Linked DNA regions of Homo sapiens: region 2 is linked to region 1. The links are contacts of gene promoters, found by promoter capture Hi-C in blood cells and fetal thymus (Javierre and others, 2016). All regions are on one chromosome and are shown on one strand. Each heading gives the region's core, a stretch centred on a gene start or on the middle of the fragment in contact. The rest is flanking DNA. Distances are from core to core; before and after follow the strand shown. Region 1 holds the start of GJB4 (gap junction protein beta 4). Region 2 overlaps CSMD2 (CUB and Sushi multiple domains 2).

The links. Contacts are between HindIII fragments. The CHiCAGO score rates a contact against its expected background, and 5 or more counts as called.
Region 2: a fragment that was not itself captured here is called in contact with the fragment with the promoter of GJB4 in region 1 in 1 of 17 cell types (endothelial precursors); the score reaches 5.0 in endothelial precursors.

The regions. Positions count from the first base shown.
Region 1 is chr1:34,757,113-34,763,194 of GRCh38, forward strand. GJB4 (gap junction protein beta 4) reads left to right here and starts at 2,628. Exons shown (of 2, transcript NM_153212.3): 1 at 2,628-2,676; 2 at 3,821-5,215. The coding sequence starts at 4,143. The coding sequence ends at 4,943. It overlaps GJB5 (gap junction protein beta 5), which reads left to right. Exons shown (of 2, transcript NM_005268.4): 2 at 195-1,400. The coding sequence starts at 219. The coding sequence ends at 1,040. The HindIII fragment of the contact is 14,269 bases long and covers 1,716-6,082 here.
Region 2 is chr1:33,606,059-33,612,367 of GRCh38, forward strand. CSMD2 (CUB and Sushi multiple domains 2) reads right to left here. Exons shown (of 71, transcript NM_001281956.2): 41 at 4,983-5,192. Among named protein-coding and RNA genes, the nearest start is that of ZSCAN20, 140 kb to the left of the region's middle. RefSeq lists enhancers at 1-126, 1,404-1,904, 1,905-2,405. The HindIII fragment of the contact is 2,316 bases long and covers 831-3,146 here.

The DNA of each region.
Region 1 (6,082 bases), core at 1,378-3,877:
CTGCACCTAATAGTTGTGTAACCTTGTATATAATGCCACTAAACCTCAGCTCCCTCCCTCTACAAAATGGGGACAGTAGTAGAACCCAGCTCCTCTAGTGATGGTAAGGATGAAATGTGATGACATATTTCTACAAAGTGCTCAGAGCAAGTCTGTGATAAATGTAGGAAATGATTGTTCTTGTTTCCCTGCAGTAGCAGCTGACGCGTGGGTCCACCATGAACTGGAGTATCTTTGAGGGACTCCTGAGTGGGGTCAACAAGTACTCCACAGCCTTTGGGCGCATCTGGCTGTCTCTGGTCTTCATCTTCCGCGTGCTGGTGTACCTGGTGACGGCCGAGCGTGTGTGGAGTGATGACCACAAGGACTTCGACTGCAATACTCGCCAGCCCGGCTGCTCCAACGTCTGCTTTGATGAGTTCTTCCCTGTGTCCCATGTGCGCCTCTGGGCCCTGCAGCTTATCCTGGTGACATGCCCCTCACTGCTCGTGGTCATGCACGTGGCCTACCGGGAGGTTCAGGAGAAGAGGCACCGAGAAGCCCATGGGGAGAACAGTGGGCGCCTCTACCTGAACCCCGGCAAGAAGCGGGGTGGGCTCTGGTGGACATATGTCTGCAGCCTAGTGTTCAAGGCGAGCGTGGACATCGCCTTTCTCTATGTGTTCCACTCATTCTACCCCAAATATATCCTCCCTCCTGTGGTCAAGTGCCACGCAGATCCATGTCCCAATATAGTGGACTGCTTCATCTCCAAGCCCTCAGAGAAGAACATTTTCACCCTCTTCATGGTGGCCACAGCTGCCATCTGCATCCTGCTCAACCTCGTGGAGCTCATCTACCTGGTGAGCAAGAGATGCCACGAGTGCCTGGCAGCAAGGAAAGCTCAAGCCATGTGCACAGGTCATCACCCCCACGGTACCACCTCTTCCTGCAAACAAGACGACCTCCTTTCGGGTGACCTCATCTTTCTGGGCTCAGACAGTCATCCTCCTCTCTTACCAGACCGCCCCCGAGACCATGTGAAGAAAACCATCTTGTGAGGGGCTGCCTGGACTGGTCTGGCAGGTTGGGCCTGGATGGGGAGGCTCTAGCATCTCTCATAGGTGCAACCTGAGAGTGGGGGAGCTAAGCCATGAGGTAGGGGCAGGCAAGAGAGAGGATTCAGACGCTCTGGGAGCCAGTTCCTAGTCCTCAACTCCAGCCACCTGCCCCAGCTCGACGGCACTGGGCCAGTTCCCCCTCTGCTCTGCAGCTCGGTTTCCTTTTCTAGAATGGAAATAGTGAGGGCCAATGCCCAGGGTTGGAGGGAGGAGGGCGTTCATAGAAGAACACACATGCGGGCACCTTCATCGTGTGTGGCCCACTGTCAGAACTTAATAAAAGTCAACTCATTTGCTGGTTCCAGGTGCCCTCTGGTTGTGCGGCCTTCGTGACCCTCACACGTTCATGGTGTCAATCTCTCTGCCCCCGTGAAGAGCTGCACTTGATCCAGCCTGTGAGGGGCATCCTCTCTTCCAGAAAGGGGGCCCCCAGTACTCCAGGGGACGTGCTACTTGCTCATGCTCCCATCTAGCCTTTATCCCCCATGGCAAGTTTAGTCCTGTGGGTTGTCTGCAGAGAGAATGGAGCTTAGTCCATGTTGCAGTGGGAAGTTCATGAACTTAGAATGCCTGTGTCGAATCCAAGTTCCACCGGGACTCTGGGAAAGTAACTTAAGCTTCTCTCCAAAATGGGTTAATAATACCTAGCCTGTGGGGTTGTGCTGAGGACTGATGAGCTCATGGCTGTGGACAGGGCTAGCCAGCTGTAAAAGGACACATAAATGTTAATCATTGGTATTAGGAAGTGCTTGATAATGCCTGTGAGAAACGAGGCAGAAGGCCCCTCCCTAGCTGCACATTAACCTTCATCATCCCAGCCAGAACACAGGTCCCAGGCCCCCCACCAGCATATGTGAGGTCACACTCCAGCCTCCCTGGAGGCCTTCCCCAGGACCCACAGAGGATGGACAGCGATGCTGTGCCTGGCCCTGTGCTAACTGGGGCATTTCATGCTGCTGACCTGCATTCCTTGCCTCCACCAAGGCTATGGGTGCCCTGGTCTAGAAAAGTCATAGTTGACCCCTCCCATTTCCTACACAATCCAAGAGCTTCCAGACTCCAGTCCCAGAAATATCCCACCACCAGAATGGGATGCGTTCCTGCACTAAATTAAGGTTGCCCCTTTCCGTAGATGTCAGCTGCTGAGACCTCAGTATCAGGCTTCCCAGGAAAAGGGCAGGAGAGAGGGCAAGGAGGCAGGGTAAGGAGGCAATGGGAAGGGGACAGGGTCAATCCCACTGGTGCTGTCCTAGGCCTAGGCATAATGATATCAGGCTCCTGAACCCCACACAGCAGTCTCACCCACATACCTGCCTGCCTGGGAGCCAGGCTCAGCCATACCCAGCCAGGCTAGAGAGGAGGCGTGGGCCAGGAGAGAAGAGCCGCAGGTGTTTGCTCTGAGTATGTGCCCGGGGAAGTCCGCCCTCCTGCCTGCCCACCCAATCACTCTCGCTTGGCTCATTGGCCCAGAAAGCCCCACCCAGCAAGGGAGAGAGGAACAAAAGCTGCCTCCGGGAGGTCCTGAGGCAAACAGACAAGCCCAAGGACAAGGAAGCAGCTACTGGACCCAAGAAGGGTGAGGACCGAATAGGGCAGGAGGCTGGCCAGGAAGCAAGCAACCAGCTGAGCTGAGGATATCCAAGGGACCTCAGGCTGTGGGCTGGGCTTCAGGGAGGGAGCCAGAGGGTCAGTGTCCCTAGAGGATCCCCAGGGAAGTGCCAAGGAGGAGAAGGAATGTCCTGGCTGACCTAAGGGACGACAGAAGATTGGGGAAGAGGGGGTATCAGGAAGAAATGGGTTTCAGTTCAGTTTAACAAACATCTATTGTGTGTTCACTGGGCCAGGCCAGTGCTAGGTGCTAGGGAGACAGAGGTGAAGAGCCTGCCCTCTAGCAGCTGACAGCCTGGCAAAAAAATAAGACAGGTAAATAGACCATTTGGGTACAGGCGATGCCTCTTGCTCTGAAAGTGTCCCAGGCACACGATGTCTGAAGAGGCTGAGAGCAGAGTCAGGGATTGGGGATGGGGAAGGAGGAGGGTAGGAGGAGGGGAGGGTTGGACATGGGGCCTGATGGGGACTCCAGACAAGGGGGTGTGGAGGTCAGAGTCCACAGGAGAGGGGCCTGAGAGGAAATAATGGAAATGCGGCTAGCAAACAGCCACTAAATGGACAGAGGAGGGGGTGCCCCCAGAGAAAGTAAATGGGGGGTCCAGACCATGCCAGAATCCATCCTCAGTCCTTCCTAAAGCTGGAATGGTTGGAATTCCAGAGGAACCCACTGTGGTCAAGACAGTCAGCCCTCAGGCCCCAGCACCAGTACACGGGTTGGCAGGGATGATATCAAGTCCCCGTGATTCCAAAGCACCTCTGTTTAGTTTGGGAGGGAATGCCAGGGCTGAGAACCTTCCTGGAGCCAGAGGCAAGGAGTAAGGATGCAGATTGTTCTGGGATTTACCAAGGGGCTGATGTGAACGTCCCCAACACGGGGCCAGGCTCTTGTTGGTGTTCAGTAAAAGTGGGATGGATCTGACAACTGATAAGGATACGTTCCCACCCCTCCTGCCCTGGCCCAGCCCTGGCAGCTGATGGGAGAGCAGATCGTCCAATTCAAGCCTTCCTACGGTCTCTTTAGAAGACATGGGCTGAAACTTGGGGTAATAGAGGTTGGCTGGCATATCCATGCAGGATGATTGTCTTCACATGTATCTATTACCTTGTAGAATAAGGTAGACCCTGATTTTGGAACCTGAAGACCAAAGTGCAAGATTAGCTCTGCTACTTCCATCTGTGGACCATTGGGCAGGTATCTCTGGGCCTTCACTTACTCTTTGTGAAATGAGGACAGGGGCAATCCCTACCCTACCAAGTCATTGGGAGTGAAGACATGATGACACGGTGATTGTGAAAAGATTTTGTCAATCGCACCAGCATTAAGGGTGCCCATCTCCAGGTTCCCCCAGGCCTCAAGGCTCCCAAGGCCTGAGTGGGCAGGTAGCACCCAGGTATAGACCTTCCACGTGCAGCACCCAGGACACAGCCAGCATGAACTGGGCATTTCTGCAGGGCCTGCTGAGTGGCGTGAACAAGTACTCCACAGTGCTGAGCCGCATCTGGCTGTCTGTGGTGTTCATCTTTCGTGTGCTGGTGTACGTGGTGGCAGCGGAGGAGGTGTGGGACGATGAGCAGAAGGACTTTGTCTGCAACACCAAGCAGCCCGGCTGCCCCAACGTCTGCTATGACGAGTTCTTCCCCGTGTCCCACGTGCGCCTCTGGGCCCTACAGCTCATCCTGGTCACGTGCCCCTCACTGCTCGTGGTCATGCACGTGGCCTACCGCGAGGAACGCGAGCGCAAGCACCACCTGAAACACGGGCCCAATGCCCCGTCCCTGTACGACAACCTGAGCAAGAAGCGGGGCGGACTGTGGTGGACGTACTTGCTGAGCCTCATCTTCAAGGCCGCCGTGGATGCTGGCTTCCTCTATATCTTCCACCGCCTCTACAAGGATTATGACATGCCCCGCGTGGTGGCCTGCTCCGTGGAGCCTTGCCCCCACACTGTGGACTGTTACATCTCCCGGCCCACGGAGAAGAAGGTCTTCACCTACTTCATGGTGACCACAGCTGCCATCTGCATCCTGCTCAACCTCAGTGAAGTCTTCTACCTGGTGGGCAAGAGGTGCATGGAGATCTTCGGCCCCAGGCACCGGCGGCCTCGGTGCCGGGAATGCCTACCCGATACGTGCCCACCATATGTCCTCTCCCAGGGAGGGCACCCTGAGGATGGGAACTCTGTCCTAATGAAGGCTGGGTCGGCCCCAGTGGATGCAGGTGGGTATCCATAACCTGCGAGATCAGCAGATAAGATCAACAGGTCCCCCCCACATGAGGCCACCCAGGAAAAAAGGCAGGGGCAGTGGCATCCTTGCCGTAGCAGGGTGGTGAGGAGGGTGGCTGTGGGGGCTCAGGAAGCTCGCCCAGGGGCCAATGTGGGAGGTTGGGGGTAGTTTGGTCCCTGGGTCCTGAGCCTCAGGGGAGGGAGGTTGATAGCTACTGGGGATTTTGTATATGGCAACAGTATATGTCAAACCTCTTAATAAATATGATTTTCCCAGTACTTTGCAGACCAGGTGGGGAGTGGCCGATAGGAAAACGGGGGGCAGGGGGGATTAGGTGGACCTCAGAGAGGATGCCAAGACTACTCAGTGAGCACCTGAGCACTGGAACCTCAGATCCAGGCTCACCCATCACCCCCCAACACACACAGTGTGTGCCCCCAGAACATGATGGGCTGTGCCCAAAGGCAGAGGCTACTCCAGGGGCCTCTGGGTTGTGCAACCACCTGGCCAAAGCAGGAGGAGAGGAATTCCAGGAGACCCTGTGCCCAGCAGGAGTCAGTTCTCAGTGATCGTCCATCACAGGAATGAGCGTGGGTTGGGCCTCCCTAGCCCTGCCCAGCACAGGTCCCGGATAGGTGAGTCCCCTCTGACGGTGGGAGGGTCACGGCTGAGAGCAAGCCAGGGATGGGAATCTGTCAAGGTGCCCAAGAGGCACATCCTACAGGCCAGGGCCCACTGAGAGTGTCTGAGCTGAAAGGTCCCTTGTGGATCCTGGAGTCTATGGAATTTCATGTTCTTTTTCACTGATACAACTTCCCCATCCCATACTCCCCCACCCCACCACCACTCAGACTTTGGCAACTCCCAGAACCACACCTCCACCCTAACATGCCTCTGAGTCCCACCAAATGCCCACTAGACAATTCCCTGGGAGGCCCCCAGGCATCTCATACCCGCCACTCCCAAGCTGACCTCATCAGCTCACCCAGACCTGCCCCCTTGAAGATGCCCCACCCCATCTCATGCAGGACACAGCTATTCACCCAGCTGCCCAAGCCAGGGGACGAGACAAGCCTGACATCCTTGTCCCTCACACCCCACACCCCCACTGGCACCAAATCCCACTGATTCCAGTCCCTAAATGC
Region 2 (6,309 bases), core at 739-3,238, 1.2 Mb before region 1:
TCCCTCCAAAGGGCAGGGAAGCTGTTTCCATGAGAGTGGGTGGCCTGACTCCACAGGAGATGCCTCCATGGAAGCAGCTGAGGCCAGTCCATTGGGGAGAGGCTGCTGAGGGATTCCTGAGCAAGGCCTTTGATGAATTGGGTCCACAGGACACAGAACAGCCTTCGTGGCAGTAATTGCGCCCACTCCACTCAGGAAATTGGCAGCGGGAGGAGACAGAACGTTCCTACAGTGGGAATCCTCAGTGGAAGTAGTTGGGACTGGATAGATGCTTCTTAGAAGTACATGTGTTTCTCATACGTAATAACAACATCAATAACGCGGATCTTGAAGATAACATTTCCTGAGCACTCACGTGGCTGTGTTATGTTTCCATTCAGTACCTCACAGGGAAGTCTCAGGGGGAGGAACTGGGCAGGTTTCCCTGGGAAATCATTGAGGTAATTGGGTGTGCCAAAAACTGAGCAACCACATGGGTGGGGTGGCTGCTTAGCCCCAGGACAGGCCTGGCCCTGCAGCACGGGGGTTTGGGCCGTTTGGCAACGAAAGTCTCAGCGGAAGCAGGGGGCCTTTTGCCCAGGGAGGCAACCCAATGGGATGGGTTGGGTCTTTACAGAAAGGCTCAGGGTAGCCACGTGGACTCAGAGACGGGGAGAGAAGGAAGGGAGTGGCTGTGTGTGGGAAGCCAGGAGCAGCCTTGATGAGAGCAGCTGGGCCTCTCCTACAGGAATCATCTCCAGTGGAAGGATCTAGGCTCTTCAAAAAGACAGAAACTTCAGTGAGAGTACCTCAACACTGAGAGAAACCTCAGAGCCTGTTCCCCTGCAAGAAGCTTCAAAGGGAGAGGTTGGCCATATAAGGCAGAAATAAACCCTAAGAGGAGGAAGGATGAACTTCCCCAAAGAAGGACTCCTCAGGAAAGCAAGTGGGTTTGTTCTAAAGGGACACACCTGGTGACAGTGGGAACACACTTCCAAACAAAGTGCCATAATCAGGTAGATACAATTTCAAGCAAAATGCCATTATTTTAAAACATTAATAATGATGATGCCTAGCATTTGGGGACAATTGTACATCTTAGCCATTTTGCTAAGTTCTTTATAAACAGAACCCTCCTGAGAAATTGTCATGGAACACATTAAGCATGTCGGACCGGGAGGCCTGGCTAGGAGTTGCTTATGCTGCTACTAAGAACTTGATGGGAATCTTTACTTAAAGAAGAGAAAAGAAGACCCTAGCATGGGAAGTGCAGAGTATCAGTTGGAGGAATTTTGAGAAAGAGTAAAGAGTTGGACTTCTAAGGAAAGTCGAGGGGCCATAGAGAGCTGGGTCTGACAGAAACAGCCTCAGTGGGGACAAATGGCTCGTTCATTGAAGCTGGGTTTTTCCCCAGAGGAAAAACCTGGGGAGAGTGGTCAGAGCTTGCTTACGAGGTGCCGCTCCGTACGGCGGAGGAAGGTGTAAACAGAGAGTGTGGGCTTATGGTCAGGGAGAGTTATTTGGGCCTATCACAAATGATGAGGCCTCTGTGGGAATACTTAGGCCTCTGGCCCTAGAGGCAACCTAGCCCAAGAGGTTGGGATCGCCCCAAACGAGAAGCCTTAATAGGGGTGGAGCCCAAGTCTGAGGGGAGCAGGTGCCCCGGCACCATGTGTGGCTCCACAGGAGTCCTTGGGACTGTGGCAGACAGGTGAACGCTGAGGGAGTGGCTGTGCCTGGGACTGAAGGGGAACATCCAGGCAAGTCCTGAAGGTCACATGCTTGTGGGAGGAGGGGGCCCATTATAGGGTGGAAGCCCCATTGGATGTCGCTGTGCCTCTCACATGTTGGGCCAACTCCTGGTGGAGGAGCTGGGTGTCTGAAGGCAACTCGCTGCCCCCTGGCCTCCCTACGCAGGGAAAGTTATCAGAGGAGGACTGGGCCTGTGGAGGCTGCAAACCTCAGTGGGAGAGACAGGCCCATCCCAGGGAGGGACACTAGTCCCGAATGTTGGCTTGTCGTCCAGGAAACCTCAGGGGGACAGCGGGGCCCCTTGTGCAGGGTGGCCATAGTGGGAGCATTTCCAAAGATGGGGGCTGGGGAATCAGGGGCGAGTGAGCCCAAGGCCAGGGCTCTGTGGGGGTAGTTAGGCCTCTTCTGTCGAGGGAGTCAATGGAGAATCTGAGGCGGTCACACAGGCACAACCTTTACAAGGACAAGTGGGCTCATCACACGGGGAGCACAGCGAGTGGCTGGTCCCATCACAGGGATTCAGTGGCAGGACCGTGCCCATTGTCTAGGGTGAAGGCACAGTGCACGGGGTGGGCCCAGGGCAGCTGTCCCTGGCACAATGGTGGCACTGCCATTCCTTATATTTATCCGAGAAGGAAGGTCTCAGGGAGAGAGCACTTGGGCCTGGGAGGGGTGCAAGGGGCTGAAATATGTCTCCCAAAATTCATATGCTGAAGACTTCACTCCTTGTGAATATGACCTTATGGGAAATAGACAGGATCTTTACCAAACTTATGGAAATTAAAATGAGGTCACTAGGGTGGGCTCTGATCCAATATGACTGGTGTCTTTATAGAAGGTGGGAATTTGGAGACAGAGGCACATGAAGAGCACCATGTGAAGATGAAGCCAGAGGTCGGGGTGATACTTCTAAGAGCTGAGAATGCCAAGATTGTCATGAACTACCAGAAGCCAGGGGAGGGGCCCGGACAGAGTCTCCCTCATGGGCCTCAGAAGGAACCAACTCTGCTGACACCTTGATCTTGACCATCCAGCCCCAGAGCCATTGGACAGTAAGTTTCCGTTGTTTAAGCCACCCAGTTTGTGGTACTTTCTTATGGCAGCCCTAACAAACTAAGACACAGGAAAGCCTTGGGGGAAGGCGTTGCATCTGTCTCTGAGAGGACATATTTGGGACCAAGTCCCTCCTGTGACATCACGGCCATCCGACGCGTCATGACCTGTTTGACAGGTACACACCTCCCAGATAATAGGCACAGACATCCTTGGGCAAGGCTGGCCTCTGTGATGAGCCTGCACACACCTTCCCTGGGTGTGGCAGCTGTGCTAACACCAGTGAAGTGGCTCTGTCTGGGTGCAAGGCCCAGCTTCTCCTGAGGCTCCCTCTAGATGACAAGCCCAGCCGCACTTACCAAAGCTTTCCCTGAGATGGACCCCGGAACCCTGAAGTCTCCTGCAGAACTGATTCAGTTGCACCCACCTCGTGGGATGCCCTTTAAGGCTTTCCCTAAATGAGAAGCCCAGTACCCCCTCAGTATTCTTCTCTGGCAAGGGAGGAGCTCCATCCCCACCATATTATTTCCAGAATAAAGAAGTCAACTCTCAGAAAGCTGCATATAGGATGGTACTATTTATATAGAAAACGTGGTCAAAAAATTTTATAAAATGTTACATATTTTTCACAGGTACATGTAGCATACATATATCCAGGCCTGGAAAGGTCACAACTAAACAATAGTAGCCGTTTCTGGAGAATAATCCTGGGTTTGGAGGCTATAGACAAAGAGAGCTTTGGCCTTACTTGTAAGGTTTTAATTTCTTTCTTGTATTTTTCTTTTTTTAAAAGATAAATATGTTTGTAAATTGTTTGTGTAATTAAAAATTAACTTTAAAAAACAAAATTGGAAAACTATAGTACGATCCAATTTTGGCTAAAAATATAGCTACAGCAATATATATACCGAGAAAAGCGGGGAATACATATTGAATTGTTGAAAGTGTGTATCTCTGCATAGGGTAGTGACAGGATGGGATTATGGGAGGATTTTGACTTCCTGTGACGGGTGTTAGGGCCTGAATATTTCTGTCCCATCAAATCCCTATGTTGAAACCTAATCCCTCATGTGAGGGTATTTGGAGGCAGGGCATTTGGTGGCCCACCCTCCTAAATGGGATTAGTTCCCTTATAAAAGAGGCCTGAGAGAGCTCTTTTGCCCCTTCCACCATGTGAGGACGCAGTGAGAAGATACTGTCTATGAACTAGAAAGTGGGTCTTCACCAGACACGGAATCTGCTGGCACTGTGATCTTGGACTTCCTAGCCCTCAGAACTGTGAGAAATAAATTTCTGCTGTTTGTAAGGCACTTGGCTTATGGTATTTTGTTACAGCAGCCTGAGCTAACACAATGTGCTCACAAAATTATCTACAGTGTTTAGATTTTTTTTTTTTTTTTTACAAACATGAATTAGTATTGGAAAAAAAATCTAAAAATATTTTTAAAAATTCAGTGGAAGAATCTGGGAAAGGGATTAGAACAAATGCTTCGGTCAGTCACAATAAGGGAAGCATCCAAGGGCGAGGTTGGGCTTACTCAGGACCATGTACAGCTGCACAGGTTGGGCACAATCTCCACATCCACAGGTGATGGATGGTCTACAACACAGGGGAACCTGAGTGTAGATGGGGCTCTTTCCAGGGAATGTCCCAGAATGAGTGGGGCCGGTCACGGGATCCCACTTCAGAGAGGTGGAGCTGTGGTGAGTGTGGTTGGGCCTCACAGGAAAACCTGCTCCTTGTGCAAGGCTTAGAGGTGCCCTTGGGACTGTTACTAGAATCCTCCATCCTGTCATAGGAAGAGCTTTGCTGAGAGTAATTGGGCTTGATGTGCAGGGAAGGACCCTGGGGAAGTAATTCAGTTTATCAAGCCCGAGGGGAAGTGACTGGCTGGACAGTTTGGGACACCTGAGAAGGCACAGATGGGCCACTTGCCCAGGGACAGCTGTACAGAGTGGGAGCCTCAGAGGGTGCTGTTGGGCCTGCCACTCTTGAAAAGGCTGTGGGAGAACTTAAGCTGACAAATGGGGTCCGGAGAGATCTGCCACCAAAAGGAAGCTTCCCTGACTGGGCCTGCCACCGCAACCCACCCCTTATGGTGTTCTGTTTTCCCCCACATGGAAGGCTGGGAAGGTGGGTGGCTGGGGCAAGAGATGGAGATAGACAGAGAAGCAAAGGCGGTGCTCCTTGTCCTTACCCTGATACTCCAGCTTGAATCCTGGCCGATTCTGGGAGTGGTCGCTGTGGAAATACACGGTGGTCTCGTGGGACGTGGAGAGGAGGGAGCTTGGAAGCTCGCTTCCACTGAATCTTCCCATCATGCGGCTGGTCTCATAGGGGCCATTCCGGATTTCTATGTAGTCGTGGTTGGGCTCGGTGGAGAAGTTCAGGAACTGGATGTGAGCTCCTGGGAGCAAGACAGAGGCAGACAGTGCCCAAAGCAACACAGTCCTGCCTCAAGTGTGCTGCCTCATGAAAGCAGCTCCTGCCAGAGCCATGAGTCCCTGCTACTGATTTCCCACCCAGCCAAGGCTCCTAGAACTGGCTTTGGGAATTGCCCGTCCAGCCAAGTCTCTTGTCTTTGACAGGGCTGAACTTAAAAGTGTATTATTCATTCAAAAATAAAGGCATCAGTCATTTCAGAGCTCCACTGGAGTTCATTTTATTTTGTTGAAAACAAAGTTCAGGGTCAACACTTGTTTAAATTTATGATTCATATGTCCAATATCAGCATAAAGATAGTTTTGCTAGAATAAACTTTTCATTTAAAAATAACACCCCCAATACTTAATCAAAAGACAAGACCTTCAATACTGCTGTTTTCTAGAACTCTTATGATAATTCAGAAACGTAGGGCTTAGAAGTATACATTGTCCCCTCTGTTCCATAAAGAAGCCAAATAAAGTTTCTACTTTGGGATCTTAGTGAGTTAATCAAGACATTCTAGCAACCTGACAGGTTAAATAAATCTAATTAAGTTCTTAATGTACATAGTAATATACTCTTTCAAGAACGAAGGTGGGAACATTTATGTTTGTTTACTGATAAGATTTTTCAAAATTAGATCACCATGGAAAATGTTATTGAAGAAATATATTTACTGAGCATAGGAAAAAGCCCATATTGCATTGATAATTGTAAAAATCAGATGACAAATAGTATGCTGTATACAATTCTAATTTTTGTATTATAAAACATGGAAGAATATTAATTTGCCTGCTAGGAATATTTGCTGGGCATTTGCTGTACATCAGGGCTGTGCTAGGCATTGTACAGGATGAGCAAGATCAAGAAGGTCCTTGTCTTCATGAGACTTACATGGTAACGCTGGGAGACTAAGCCATTAGTGATTATCGCTGCACGATGAGATTATAGATGGATTTTCATTTTTAAAATTGGCTTATCTGTGCTATCAAATAAGCTCAGAATAAGCACGAGTATAATTCTTTTTGCATCTGATCATTTAAAGAATAAAATAAAGACTCGACACTTAATGTTGAAGATCTTTCATCTCCTGCCCTGTT